Linked DNA regions of Homo sapiens: regions 2, 3 and 4 are each linked to region 1. The links are contacts of gene promoters, found by promoter capture Hi-C in human tissues and cell types (Jung and others, 2019). All regions are on one chromosome and are shown on one strand. The core of a region is centred on a gene start or on the middle of the fragment in contact, and the rest is flanking DNA. Distances in the headings are between cores, read along the strand shown.

Region 1 (2,973 bases), core at 335-2,834:
GAGAGTCTGAGTCATCTCAGACTATATAAATACCTATTTTGTTATGTTCAGACTTCCTTCAGCCTCAGATTGATAGCTTATCTTCACAGTTTAGAATATAGATCTGTAAGTGCTGCCAAGGTGGTTGACCCAGGAGCTAGGGCAGAACCATCTGCATTCATTTCTTTGGGGCTTTGGACTGGCCCAGAAGAGTATTCAGTGAATGAAATAGCTCTGAAGAGGAACAACCCGGTTTCTAAATTCAAGCCTTCCCATGGAGGGAATTTTTTGTCTTAGTAAATACTACAAGCATATAGTTTTTAAAAGATTCAAATTTTTCAGGAGAAAAGGATAGTTATTTGCACCCATTTCCTAGTCGGTCATTTGCCCTCTCCAAAGGGAAGAAATTAGTTTGTGTCCCTTTTTCAAAGATAGTATCTACACATTTGAACATCCAGATTTGTAAAACACATACTCTCGGCCGGGTGCGGTGGCTCACACCTGTAATCCTAGCACTTTGAGAGGCGGAGGCGGGTGGATCACGAGGTCAGGAGATCGAGACCATCCTGGCCAACACGGTGAAACCCCTATCTCTACTAAAAGTACAAAAATTGGCCGGGTGTGCTGGCGTGCGCCTGTAGTCCCAGCTACTTGGGAGGCTGTGGCAGGAGAATCTCTTGAACCCGGGAGGCGGAGGTTGCAGTGAGCCGAGATGGCGCCACTGCACTCCAGCCTGGGCAAGAGAGCCAGACTCCGCCTCAAAAAAACAAAACAAAACAAAAAAACAAAAACATACTCTCTTCTTTACATTGCTTAGTGTCACTAGAAATATATCTTGGGGCTTGTCAACGATGACAGGAAGGAAGCATGGGTAAGAATAACTATGGGGCCAGTGCACCCAGGATCACGGACTACAAAATTCTTGAACCCGGAGGTCACACTTTTCTATCCTGTGTGGACAGGGCATTTCCTCCTTTAGCCACAAAGAAGTTGCACATGTATTTGTATTTTGCGTTTGCATCCAGCTTCAAAAAGTGTGTTTTTGTGCCTGCACATGTCTGAGTGCGGATGTTTGCATATCATTTAGTACGCCTCTGTGATTTCCCTTAGTTTATTATTTTTCTGTGTCAGGATCTTGACGTGACTCGGTGCATGTCGCTGTTTGTGTGACATTGTGTATCATTCTTGGGGTGTGTATGGGTATGTGTGTGCTATGTCATTACCTAAATATTACGTTTTTGGGGGGGTGTGTGATGTCTGTGAAAGTCCACGCCTGTGTATCTTGTCAGGGTGCTCTTCAGTCCCCAGCTGCCTCACTCATTGCATATCATCATTCTCGGAAGATGGGCGGGTGTGGGAACAGTGGTACGCCCCCATTCCTGCCTTCCAGAGAGAACGTGCGACAGCGTTCCTGCTACACCCGGCAGCCGGCCGTAGGGGCGCGCTGGAAAGGCTGCTGCGCGTGCACACGTGTGCAGCCTTGGAGACAGACTTCGGGGTCGCGCGTTCTCGCGCGCGCTCTCTAGTGGCTTCGGAGGGCAGAGCTGACAGAACAAGAGGGCGGGGTTGGCGGCGACGGAAGTGAAGTCACTTCCGGGCTGGGGTGTTTGTTTGGACTGGAGAAGGGAGGCGGCGGGCGAAGCGCACGTCGAGCGGGGGAGCGGCGCTGCCTGTGGAGATCCGCGGAGGCCGACAGGATTCGTTGGCTGCCGTCCCCGCTGCTGTGCATTGGGTGAGGGGTCCTCTCGGGCAGAGTGGCGACAGGGGTGCGGAGGTCGAGGGACAGCAAGTCGGCGACGGCAGAGGGGCCTAAAGGGTTCCCTGGGTGGTTGGCCACCGAGTCCATTGCGGCCTCCGTTGTTCATTGCCTCTTTCCACCAAGTCTGAGGGATGAGCTTGGGCCGACTTCGTCTCTGTCTTCTCCGAGACATGGCCGTCGCTTTTTTTTCATTGTCATTATTAATGATTTGGATCTCGCAGCTCTCTATCCGGGTCCTCAGTGGCGCGAGGGTTGCCGGGATAGCACTTTCTCCTGTTCCTCATTCTCCCGGTCCTTTATCCCTCCGCCGGGTACCCTTTCCCCTGCCCCCCTCCCACCGCCTCGGCAACAAAGCTTATTGTTTCTACCCACTTTACGCCTGCGCGTCGCCACGCGCAGCCCCTACTTGCTGCGCGTGCGCGCCTCAGCCGAGGCTGGGGTTTGGGGAGAGAGGGGCGGAGGGACTGGCGGGCTCTTGGCGTCTTGGGGGAACGCTGCAACCGTCGACGGGCCTGATCAGAAGATCGTCTTTCTCCCGTTTCTTCGCCATCGCTACCCCTTATTTTTGGTTGTATTGCAGCTCATGCCCTGGAAAAAAGAACCTTTGGGGTACTGGGAACCCTTACCCTAGGAGGGCGTTGAGTTAGATGAACTTTAAGGTCCTCTTACCTTTTAATAATTTTCTGTGCTTACTCTCCTCCTTCCCCACCATCGCCACCAGAAATAAATAAGGCTTGTGGTGAACTTAGGTCTTCAAAACATTTGTTGCAGCAGCCAGCAGTGATATTTTTTAGGGACTCCTAAAAGGGGTCTTACCTGCTTCCTTTTGTTTCTTTTTTCCCTGATTTGGCACCCGTATCAACTCATAAAAACCCCAAACTCTAGAAAGAATTTGGCTTCCAATTTGCCTTGGAAGGTGTAGCAGCTGACAGCCTTTGACGTTTATTTCAACGGAAAGTAGATGTTCATGTTGGGTGTGCTGGCTAATGTTGAAACGTGGTGGCATTGTTTTTTCACAGATTTCATTAGCACAGTTAGATCAGGTGTTGGTTTATATTTTCATTAAGTCGCTTTTGAAATTTCTTCTGGCGTAGGTTGTGTTTGCAATAAGTAAAAGTTCTCTACAATAATTTTTAATGAGACTCCACTATTTGCTTTTGTGATTCTGTTTCCAGTTAGTGAAAGACAGGATATTTGGGGAAAATTAGTCTGTTTATACTACTTGTCAGTTGTGA
Region 2 (2,973 bases), core at 142-2,641, 380 kb before region 1:
AGATTCTGTCAAATGATTTCCTGAAACGCAGACTTCCTCTGTGTCTATTATACCGGCCTAATCTGCCAGCCTGGCAAATCTTATGAAAAAGAAAATTAGAGTTGGGAGGAACTTGAGACAGTCTTCTGGGGTACTGATAATGTTACATTTCTGGATCTGGGTGGTGGTTACATGGGTGTCTCCACTTTCAATAATTCATCAAGTAGAATGTGTTAAACTTTTCTATATGGAGGGATGGGGGAGGGAGGACTTAAGCATTAAACTAGTCCAGCAAGACCTGGTTTTATGGAACCCACACTAACTCTAAGAAATGACCTCTTTTCTTTAAAAATACTCTTAAGTCACATCTCAAAAACTTGCTCTGTTATTTTGAAAACCAGAACAGTTGCCCATTGTGTCTCCTTGCCCCTCTCCCAATCCCCATAATGCCATAAAGATTTCTGCACACAGTTTGATGATGATGTCCCTAAGTTTCTGTCTGGCATTTAATTTTTCAGACCCTGTCTAATTTGGAGAAGCCAGTGGTTCATTTACACTTTTTGTACACTCCTGGTCTCAAGTTCCACTTAACTCTATGTTTGTTTTACTTTCTGCAGGAAGGCCATTCTCCTTGAGAGAGAAGGCAGAGGCAAACAGAATAAGCAGTAAGGACAGAGATGCCCTCTATGGCATCTGCTAAATCACCTGATTGAACCAGGTGGCCTAAAGCCTTCCTTGCCATCCCTCTCACTCTCAACAGTAGCTGCACAGGCGCCTTTGTTGTTCTTAGTGTTTCCCAGGTCTCACCCATCTGGTGCTCCTGACACTGTTCTCGGAGGTTGCATCCACTTCTCTATTTGCTCTTGGTTACAGGTCCCTTTTTCATCTCTAGACAAAATCTCAGCTCGAACTGTGCCCCCTGAAGCCATGTGGGTCTCTTTAGGTGGCTCCCTGTTCCCTGCAGTAATCACTCGTGACTCTATTAAGTACACTTCATTTTTCAAACTCTAAGTCATCTTTCCTTTTGAAGCTCCTGTTCAGACATCATATCTACTTTTTCCTGGACCCTCTGAAATTTACTTTCCCTAAAACTCAGAGGCAGAGAGTTTTACCTTCCCCTTTTAGCTTCTCCAAACACAGTCACTTTCTGCTGATGTTCTCTAGACTTTTTTTTTTTTTTTTTTTTTACCAGACAGATCCTTCTTGTTGCTCAGAATATAATTTCAGTGAGGCCCTTCTCCTTATTGCTTCCTTAACCTCCTGAGAGAGAAAACTGTCAGAAAAGAGAATTAAGAATTAAAGCAAGTGAAGAATTTATTGGTTTCTTTTTTTTTTCTAGAAGATTTCCAACTGCCCAGATACCCCGTGCACCACGCCAGTTTGCTTCTGTGCCAGTTTTATAATTTCAATTGAGAAAGCCTCTTCTACACGGAGGGTAAAGAGTTGACAATTACCTCAGAGTTGATTGGTTGGTTAGTTTTTTGGTGGGCTAAAAGCCAATGACCTGGACTTTTTCCATTTTTTTTTTTTTCCTCTTCACCAAAAAGCCCAAACCCAGGAAGCAAAACACTGAGTGCTGCTCTGGAGTCAGAGAGACCTAGGTGAAAGTCCGAGATTCTAGTGTTTTCAGCTGTGTGACTGAGGTAAGTTACTAAGCCTCTCTGTACCTCAGTTTCTGCATTTGTAAAACAGGGATTAATAACAATAATATTTATCTCATGGGATTGTTGCGGGGATGAAATGTGATTTTATATACATAAACATACCCAGAGTTCCTGGCAAATGCCAAGCATTAGGATAACAGCTGTTTTATCATAATATACCATTTAACAAAAATTATTATTTTTACTTTTCTGCTAAGACAGAATGCCAGGGTTTTCAGGCTTCTCAGAAGGGAGAGGAGCTATCTGTGTTGGGGGACAAAGAAGACCTCCCACTGAGTGGCCTTAGATTCCCATTCTCAGCTCCTCTGACTGGATAGACAAAGCCAGTACAGAAGGAATTCATGGGGGAGAAATGTAATTAACAAGCTAGAGGGAGAGATTGGGAGGAAGGATCAAAGCAGCTAATTAGAACTGGCTAAAGGGAGACCACAGGGTAGGGAACATGGAAGAAAGCGGGCTAAAGAGAATTATCTGCAGCCTCTAATTATTCAAAGAATGTCCCTGAGTAATTGTCTCAGGCAGTCTGAGGGAGGCAAGGCAGGAGTAACAAGGTTAAGCAGAAGAAAATTTAAGCTAAAACATACGGGAGATTTTTCACACACTGAGATTTATCAACTTTATTAGAGAACACAGAGGATGTTATTTTAGGTCTTCTATACTCAGTTGGTGGTATAACTATCCCCATGTCTGGTGGCTGGGGGAGAGCGGAGGAGGCCAGACCCTGCAGGGCAAGAGGGGATCCAAGGAAATGGCCCACACAATCCTTGCTCCAAGCTTATAGGCAACACACCTTGTCAACCCGCCCTTTGAGGCTCAGGAAAGAGCTTCCTTCCTCACTCAGATCTGCACTCCCTCCAACCTCCACATCCCCTCACCCTCCTTGTGTTCTGTCATAAACTTGATAAACATGATAAATCTCACTGTGTGAAAAATCATCTCCTCAATCAGAGCCAGTGGAATCACGCAGGGCCTATTTTGCGTTTGCCACACAACTGTAGGAATGTTTATGAATGAGCCATCTCTTAATAGCAAAAGAAAAGGCAATGATCGTAGGACGGTCTATAGCTGAAAATGACAACACTGAAATACTTCGTTTACAGGATTTGGAAGTCGTATAGACTACAAATCTCTCTGCTGTGCAACACACATAACAAGTCCCCAAAATATCCTTTGTTTGCTGAGGTTTTGCTCAGATATTTAAGGTTCTGACAGTTTAAATATGGTGAACAATATGGTGAACCATCCAAATATTTTGCATCATTGGTATTTGGAAAGATCTTTAAGAACAATTAGTTCTAGTTCAGAGAGGCAAGTGCAGCACCCAGGCTCC
Region 3 (2,973 bases), core at 259-2,758, 360 kb before region 1:
CCACAATCTTATGATGAGAGTAGCCACAAACATGGAGAGACATGAAGCTTTCTGACTCTATATCCTAATCTGGGGAACAATAATCTTCCCAGTTATGAAGCACTATCATGGCCATCAGATCTACCACCCAAAATCCTGATGAGAGGAGGTGACTTGAACTAGATACCAGGAAGAGCTTCCTACTATCAGAGATTTAAGATAACAAGGTAGGCAGTGCTGTAGTCTGAAACCATGAAGAGTTCCTTCTCTCCCGCAAAGCAATCAGAGGAATCTTTTTTTTTTCCTCCTTTTTTTCTTTTTGACACTAGGTCTTGCTCTGTCACCCAGGCTGGAGCACAGTGGTGCAATCATAGCTCACTGCAGCCTCAAACTCTTGGACTCAAGCAATCTACCTCCCTCGGCCTCCCAAAGTGCTGGGATTACAGGTGTGAGCCACTGAGCCAAGCCAGGGGATCATTTTTAAAATGTAAATCAGATCTTGTTACTCCCTTAATTAAATGGCACCAGTGGCTTCCTGCTACCCTTAGAATAAAATCCAAATTTAGTTCACCTAGGTCTCTAGGTGCACTGCCAACTTCGCCAACCTCACCTCTTCTTAGTCTTTCTTTAGCTCACTCCATTCCAGCCACACTCACCTTCTGGCTGCTTCCTCAACTGGCCAAGCTTGTCCCTACCTCAGGACCCTTGCAACGGCTATTCCTGCTGCCTGGAAAACCCTTGGCCTAATGTACATATGGCTGACTCAATCTATATTTGAGTTGAGGCCAGAATGACATCTCTTTGGAAAAGTCTCTGTAACTAACTCATCTAAAGAACCTTATATCATCCTATTTTATTTTCTTCATAACACGTTACTGACTTAAAAATGCTTTATTGAGGTAAAATTCACATACCACACAATTCACCCATTTAAAGTGTACAACTCAATAGCTTTTTGTGTATTCACAGAGTTGTGCAACATATCACAATTTTAAGGCATTTTCATTGCCCCCCCATACCTATTACTAGTGCCCCCCGCAACTCTCCCCAACCCCCACTCCCTCAGCACTAGGCCCTACAGATTTGAATATTCCAGACATTCCACAGAGATGGAATCATCCAGTATGTGGTGCTTTGTGACTAGCTTTTTTCACTCTGACTTTTTAAAAGTTTCATCCATTCATAACATGTATCAGTACTTCATTTCTTTTTATTGCTAAATATTCCATTGTATGGATATACTACATTATATTTACCCATTTCTCAGTCAACAGATACTTGGGTTGTTTCCACTTTTTGGCTGTTATGAATATTGAGGCTATGCACATTCATGTACAAGTTTTTGTGTGGAATATGGTTTCACTTCTCTTGGGTACACACCTAGCATTGGAATTGCTGGATCACATGATAACTCTATGTTTAACTATTTGAAGAACTAGTAGTGTTTTTCAAAATGGTTGGATCAATTTACATTTCCACTAGCAGTATATGAGGGTCCCAATTTCTCCACATCCTTGTCAACACTTGTTATTATCTATCTTTTTGAGTATACAGTGTTCTCTCATTGTGGTTGGGTTTGCATTTTCCTGGGAGTTAATGATGTTGAGCATCATTTCCTGTACTTACTGCACATTTGCATTATCTTGTCTGGACAGCTGTCCATTCAGATCCTTTGCCTATTTTTTAATTGGGTTGTCTTTTTATTGTTGAATTGTAGGAGTTTTTAATTACGTTGTTTTCTGTTGCTGAGTTGCAAACATTCTTTAGGTATTCTAGATAAAAAGTCCCTTACCAGATATATGACTTGTAAAAATTTTCTCCCATTCGGTGGTTTTCCTTTTCACTTTCTTGATGGTATCCTTTGAAGCACAAGAGTATTTAATTTAATTTAATTTTATTTTATTTTTTTTTTGAGAAGGAGTCTCGCTCTGTCGCCAGGCTGGAGTGCAGTGCATGATCTCGGCTCACTGAAACCTCTGCCTCCCGGGTTCAAGCGATTCTCCTGCCTCAGCCTCTCAAGTAGCTGGGATAACAGGAGTGCACCACCACGCCCAGCTAATTTCTGTATTTTTAGTAGAGACGGGGTTTCACCATGTTGGCCAGGCTGGTCTCGATCTCCTGACCTCATGATCTGCCCGCCTTGGCCTCCCAAAGTGCTGGGATTACAGGCGTGAGCCACAGCACCCAGCCAAGAGTATTTAATTTTGATGACATACTGACTGACTAAAAAATCAACTTCTGACATGTAAAAAGAAACACCTATCTGTCTTGTTCACCACCACATCCTCAGTCTAGCAAAATGCCTGGCACATAATAGGTAGTCATGACTTTTTTAAATAATTTTTTTTCGAGACAGGGTCTCACTCTGTCACACAGGCTGGAGTGCAGTGGCGTGATCTCGACTTACTGCAGCCTCTGCCTCCCAGGCTCAAGTGATCCTCCCACCTCAGCCTCCTAAGTAGCTGGGACTACCAGCACAAGTCACCATACCCGGCTAATTCATATTTTTTAATGAATGTATGAATTTTTAGGGCCAGAGGAGATGAGTGTTGGGATGGGCTATGAGAGAGGGCTCCTTGCCAGGAGGCAGGGGTGAACACAGTGATATCTGGAATCATTTCTGTCTAGAGGAGCTGTAAAGAGTGAGAGAATGCGGTCTTCCACAAGAGCATGGGGGCAGTGTTAGATGCAACACTCCTGAGAAGTGAACGGCATCATCAATAACAAACTCCCTGACTGAAATGCTCAGGTAGTCATCCTGTCTTTTCAGCCACCCGGGTGAGCAAAAGACAGAACAATGGCTCAGGAATGGGGACAACTCAGGCAAAAGGGCCTAGTCACAGGGGTGAGGTTCTTTCCAGAATCCTCAGCACACAGCAACACCCCCAAAGGGGGCTCTAGGCTCTTGCTTTACAAAAACCGCTAGGGGCCTGTGTGTCAGCATGGCTGACAGGAAGCGGTTATACTGAGGAAAAAGAGATGAAGTCAAAAGAT
Region 4 (2,973 bases), core at 340-2,839, 270 kb before region 1:
ATGGAAAAAGTAAGGTTTGTAACAAACTAATAAACAATGAAGAAAGACAAAAGAAGACCCAACATAAATATAAGAAACCCTAAACAAGCAAACAGAATACCAAAAACCATGTTTCTTTTTAAAAGCTCAAGAAATCTAATTTCACATAAAAACGAGCAACAAAAAAGAATTATAATTCAAGAAAGCTTTCCTGAAATGAAAAAAATACTTAAAACTATGTATTGAAATAACACACTGTATACCTAAGAATACTGACCAGGGATGTCCAACAGTAAGGCATATTCTAGTAAAATAATTGGATTTTAAAGGCAAAGGAAAGATCACTTGGGCATATAAGCAAAAATCAGCAAGTAACTTATAAAGAAAATTAGATTGTCATCAGCATTTTTAACAGCAAAGCCTACTGCCAGCAGAAGATGAAGTACTCAAAGAAAGAAAATGTGAGCCAAGGATTTTATATCCTACCAAAGTGCTTTGGGATGTAAAGAACACTGACAAAGTTAACATACAAAAACACAGAGATTACTGTTTCGATGGGCTCTTCCTGAAGAATTTACTAGAAAATACATCCCAGACAATGAAAATAAGTAAGACCGGCGGTAAACATTACATATATAGTTATTTGTATAAATGCCTTAAATAAGGGCTAAAAAGGAAGTATATAATGGCTACTCTGAGAATATACATACAACACAGCTGGTTAAGAACAATGAGAGCACACACAAAAAAATGTTTTAAACTATTTTCAGTAATCATATCAGGGATAGTATTACTGCCATTCTGAAACTGTTGCATGTACAAAATGAGACAGATCAAATCAGTAAAATTATTACATATTCTAATTGTATAATCCCCTGTGTCCAGAATCAGGACTCTCGGTGTGGGAAAAAAAGAGGCAGATGTAATATCGAAGAGATTAAATAAAAACCCTGCCAGCCGGAATATGAATAGGCAGTACCCACTTGAATGTATGAGGATTATAACATATATTTCCTATCTCTTGTCAACAGAAAAGGCCTAGAAACAATGACCAACACAGCAGTAATGAGCGACCTAATGGCCAGAATGTAGTCTTAAAACTTCTTAGAGAAACAGCTAATTCCAGTCCTGGGAAGGAAATGTACAAGACGAGCTTAGAATATCTTGTCAAACCAGACAGCAAGAAAACTATCAAAGACTATTAGAGTAACATGAAAAGAACTCATTTGAAAACCTTCAACTGACCAAAAATCAAACAATTTCAACTTCAATAAAAGTAATAATTACAATGAATTAAAGCCCATAAAATATGCTTTGAACCTGTGAGTTTGTAAAGGGAAAAAAAACATCTTAATTGGTCATCTTCAGAGGATCAACTCATTATCTTGAAAACTGGTAAATAAGGAAAAAAGAACCAAACATTTATCCTGTCTTTCCTGTATGAATTTTACCACTGAGTAACAAAATAATATATATGGGGAAATACCTCTTTATAAAAGTAGTGCAGCTAAAAATAAAAAAGAAATGATAGATTTGAGTATCACCCTCTTGCAATCCCACAAAAAGAGAATCAATCAGACATTAAGCACTTCCTAATGAAAGAGCACAAAACTGCCTATAGTTTTCCCAAAGGAATGGAACCTGTGTCCGATTGAGCCCCTGGATCCAGCTGACAATTTGCAAGAAATACAGAGGTTGGAGAAACATGCCGAACTGCATCATTTATGAAATCAGCAAAATTTAGCCTGGGAAATGGCCTGAGCTCTTCAACAGACAATTTATAAGAAGAAGAAGAAAAAAAAAAGCAGGGGGTGGGGGTGGGGAATAGATAGGTAACCTGTAGATTCAAAGAGACTTAAAGGATATAACAACGTTTCTTAAATGGGCAACACTATAGTCTTGGGTGCAAAACTTAGTCATAAACTATTTGAAAATGCAAAGGAGCAATTATTGTAAAAATCAGGAGAGTGGTTACATTTGGTAGGAGGGAAATATTACAGTTGGAGGGACCTGCTGAAGTGCTCGGCAAAGTTCTATTTCCTGACTTGGGTGTGACTTCACCTGGTAATAACTCATTAAGCTACATATTTTGTATAATTTTCTATATCTGTGTTTAACTTTATAATAAAAAGAGTCTTAAAGGAGTATATGTTATCTCTGGTGAAGAAACTGGACTTAGAAGGACTTGTACTTCCTAAATTATACATTTCTATAATTAGGATTTTTTTATAGTGAGCATTCATACCTTTTATTATTAGCATTTTTTTTTTTTTTTTTTTGAGACGGAGTCTCACTCTGTCGCCCAGGCTGGAGTGCAGTGGTGCGATCTCAGCTCACTGCAACCTCCACCTTCCCGGTTCAAGCGATTCTCTGCCTCAGCCTCTCAAGTAGCTGGGATTGCAGGCACCCACCATCAAATCTGGCTAATTTTTGTATTTTTAGTAGAGACGGGGTTTCACCATCTTGGTCAGGCTGGTCTTGAACTCCTGACCTCATGGTCCCCCCGCCTCAGCCTCCCAAAGTGCTGGGATTACAGTCATGAGCCACCGCTCCTGGCAAGCAAATTTTTATTTATTTAATTTTTCTGGGATTACAAGTTGCTAAAAACATGACACATTCATGGAAAAAATACATAATTCCTTTTCTAGGCACAAAATAAATTACTTCAAAACTATTAAAAGTATAAAACTGTGGCATATATTTTAAAAAGAAAAAGGGGAGGTAGCTGCAAAAAACAAACCAATCATTTGGTATCTTTTATTATAGGAAGGGTCCATTTGGGCTTCTTTAAAATATGCTGTTATAATTGGGGTCTATTATAAATTATATACCTAAAACATATTAATACATTCTAAAATGAAAAATAACTCAGAATACCAGTCATAAATAACATACACTATTCAAACACGTACTAACACATCCTGCGAAATAGAGATGAATTCAACGAATCAAAAGTATATTGCGAATATAAAACCAGAAATAAATCCATACATG

What was found. Contacts are between HindIII fragments. The study calls those that stand out against the background at their distance.
Region 2: a fragment that was not itself captured here is called in contact with the fragment with the promoter of PAIP2 in region 1 in 2 of the 25 tissues and cell types used here (bladder and dorsolateral prefrontal cortex).
Region 3: a fragment that was not itself captured here is called in contact with the fragment with the promoter of PAIP2 in region 1 in 4 of the 25 tissues and cell types used here (IMR-90 fibroblasts, aorta, dorsolateral prefrontal cortex and 1 more).
Region 4: a fragment that was not itself captured here is called in contact with the fragment with the promoter of PAIP2 in region 1 in 2 of the 25 tissues and cell types used here (dorsolateral prefrontal cortex and hippocampus).

The regions. Positions count from the first base shown.
Region 1 is chr5:139,340,270-139,343,242 of GRCh38, forward strand. It overlaps PAIP2 (poly(A) binding protein interacting protein 2), which reads left to right and starts at 1,585. Exons shown (of 4, transcript NM_016480.5): 1 at 1,585-1,711. The HindIII fragment of the contact is 8,924 bases long and covers 1-2,973 here.
Region 2 is chr5:138,960,808-138,963,780 of GRCh38, forward strand. The region is part of intron 7 of SIL1 (SIL1 nucleotide exchange factor); the gene reads right to left. It overlaps LOC124901079 (a long non-coding RNA gene), which reads left to right. Exons shown (of 2, transcript XR_007058954.1): 1 at 1-1,414; 2 at 1,527-2,973. Among named protein-coding and RNA genes, the nearest start is that of LRRTM2, 87 kb to the left of the region's middle. The HindIII fragment of the contact is 4,395 bases long and covers 1-2,973 here.
Region 3 is chr5:138,977,194-138,980,166 of GRCh38, forward strand. The region is part of intron 7 of SIL1 (SIL1 nucleotide exchange factor); the gene reads right to left. Among named protein-coding and RNA genes, the nearest start is that of LRRTM2, 100 kb to the left of the region's middle. The HindIII fragment of the contact is 4,436 bases long and covers 1-2,973 here.
Region 4 is chr5:139,069,428-139,072,400 of GRCh38, forward strand. The region is part of intron 3 of SIL1 (SIL1 nucleotide exchange factor); the gene reads right to left. Among named protein-coding and RNA genes, the nearest start is that of SIL1, 130 kb to the right of the region's middle. The HindIII fragment of the contact is 3,786 bases long and covers 1-2,973 here.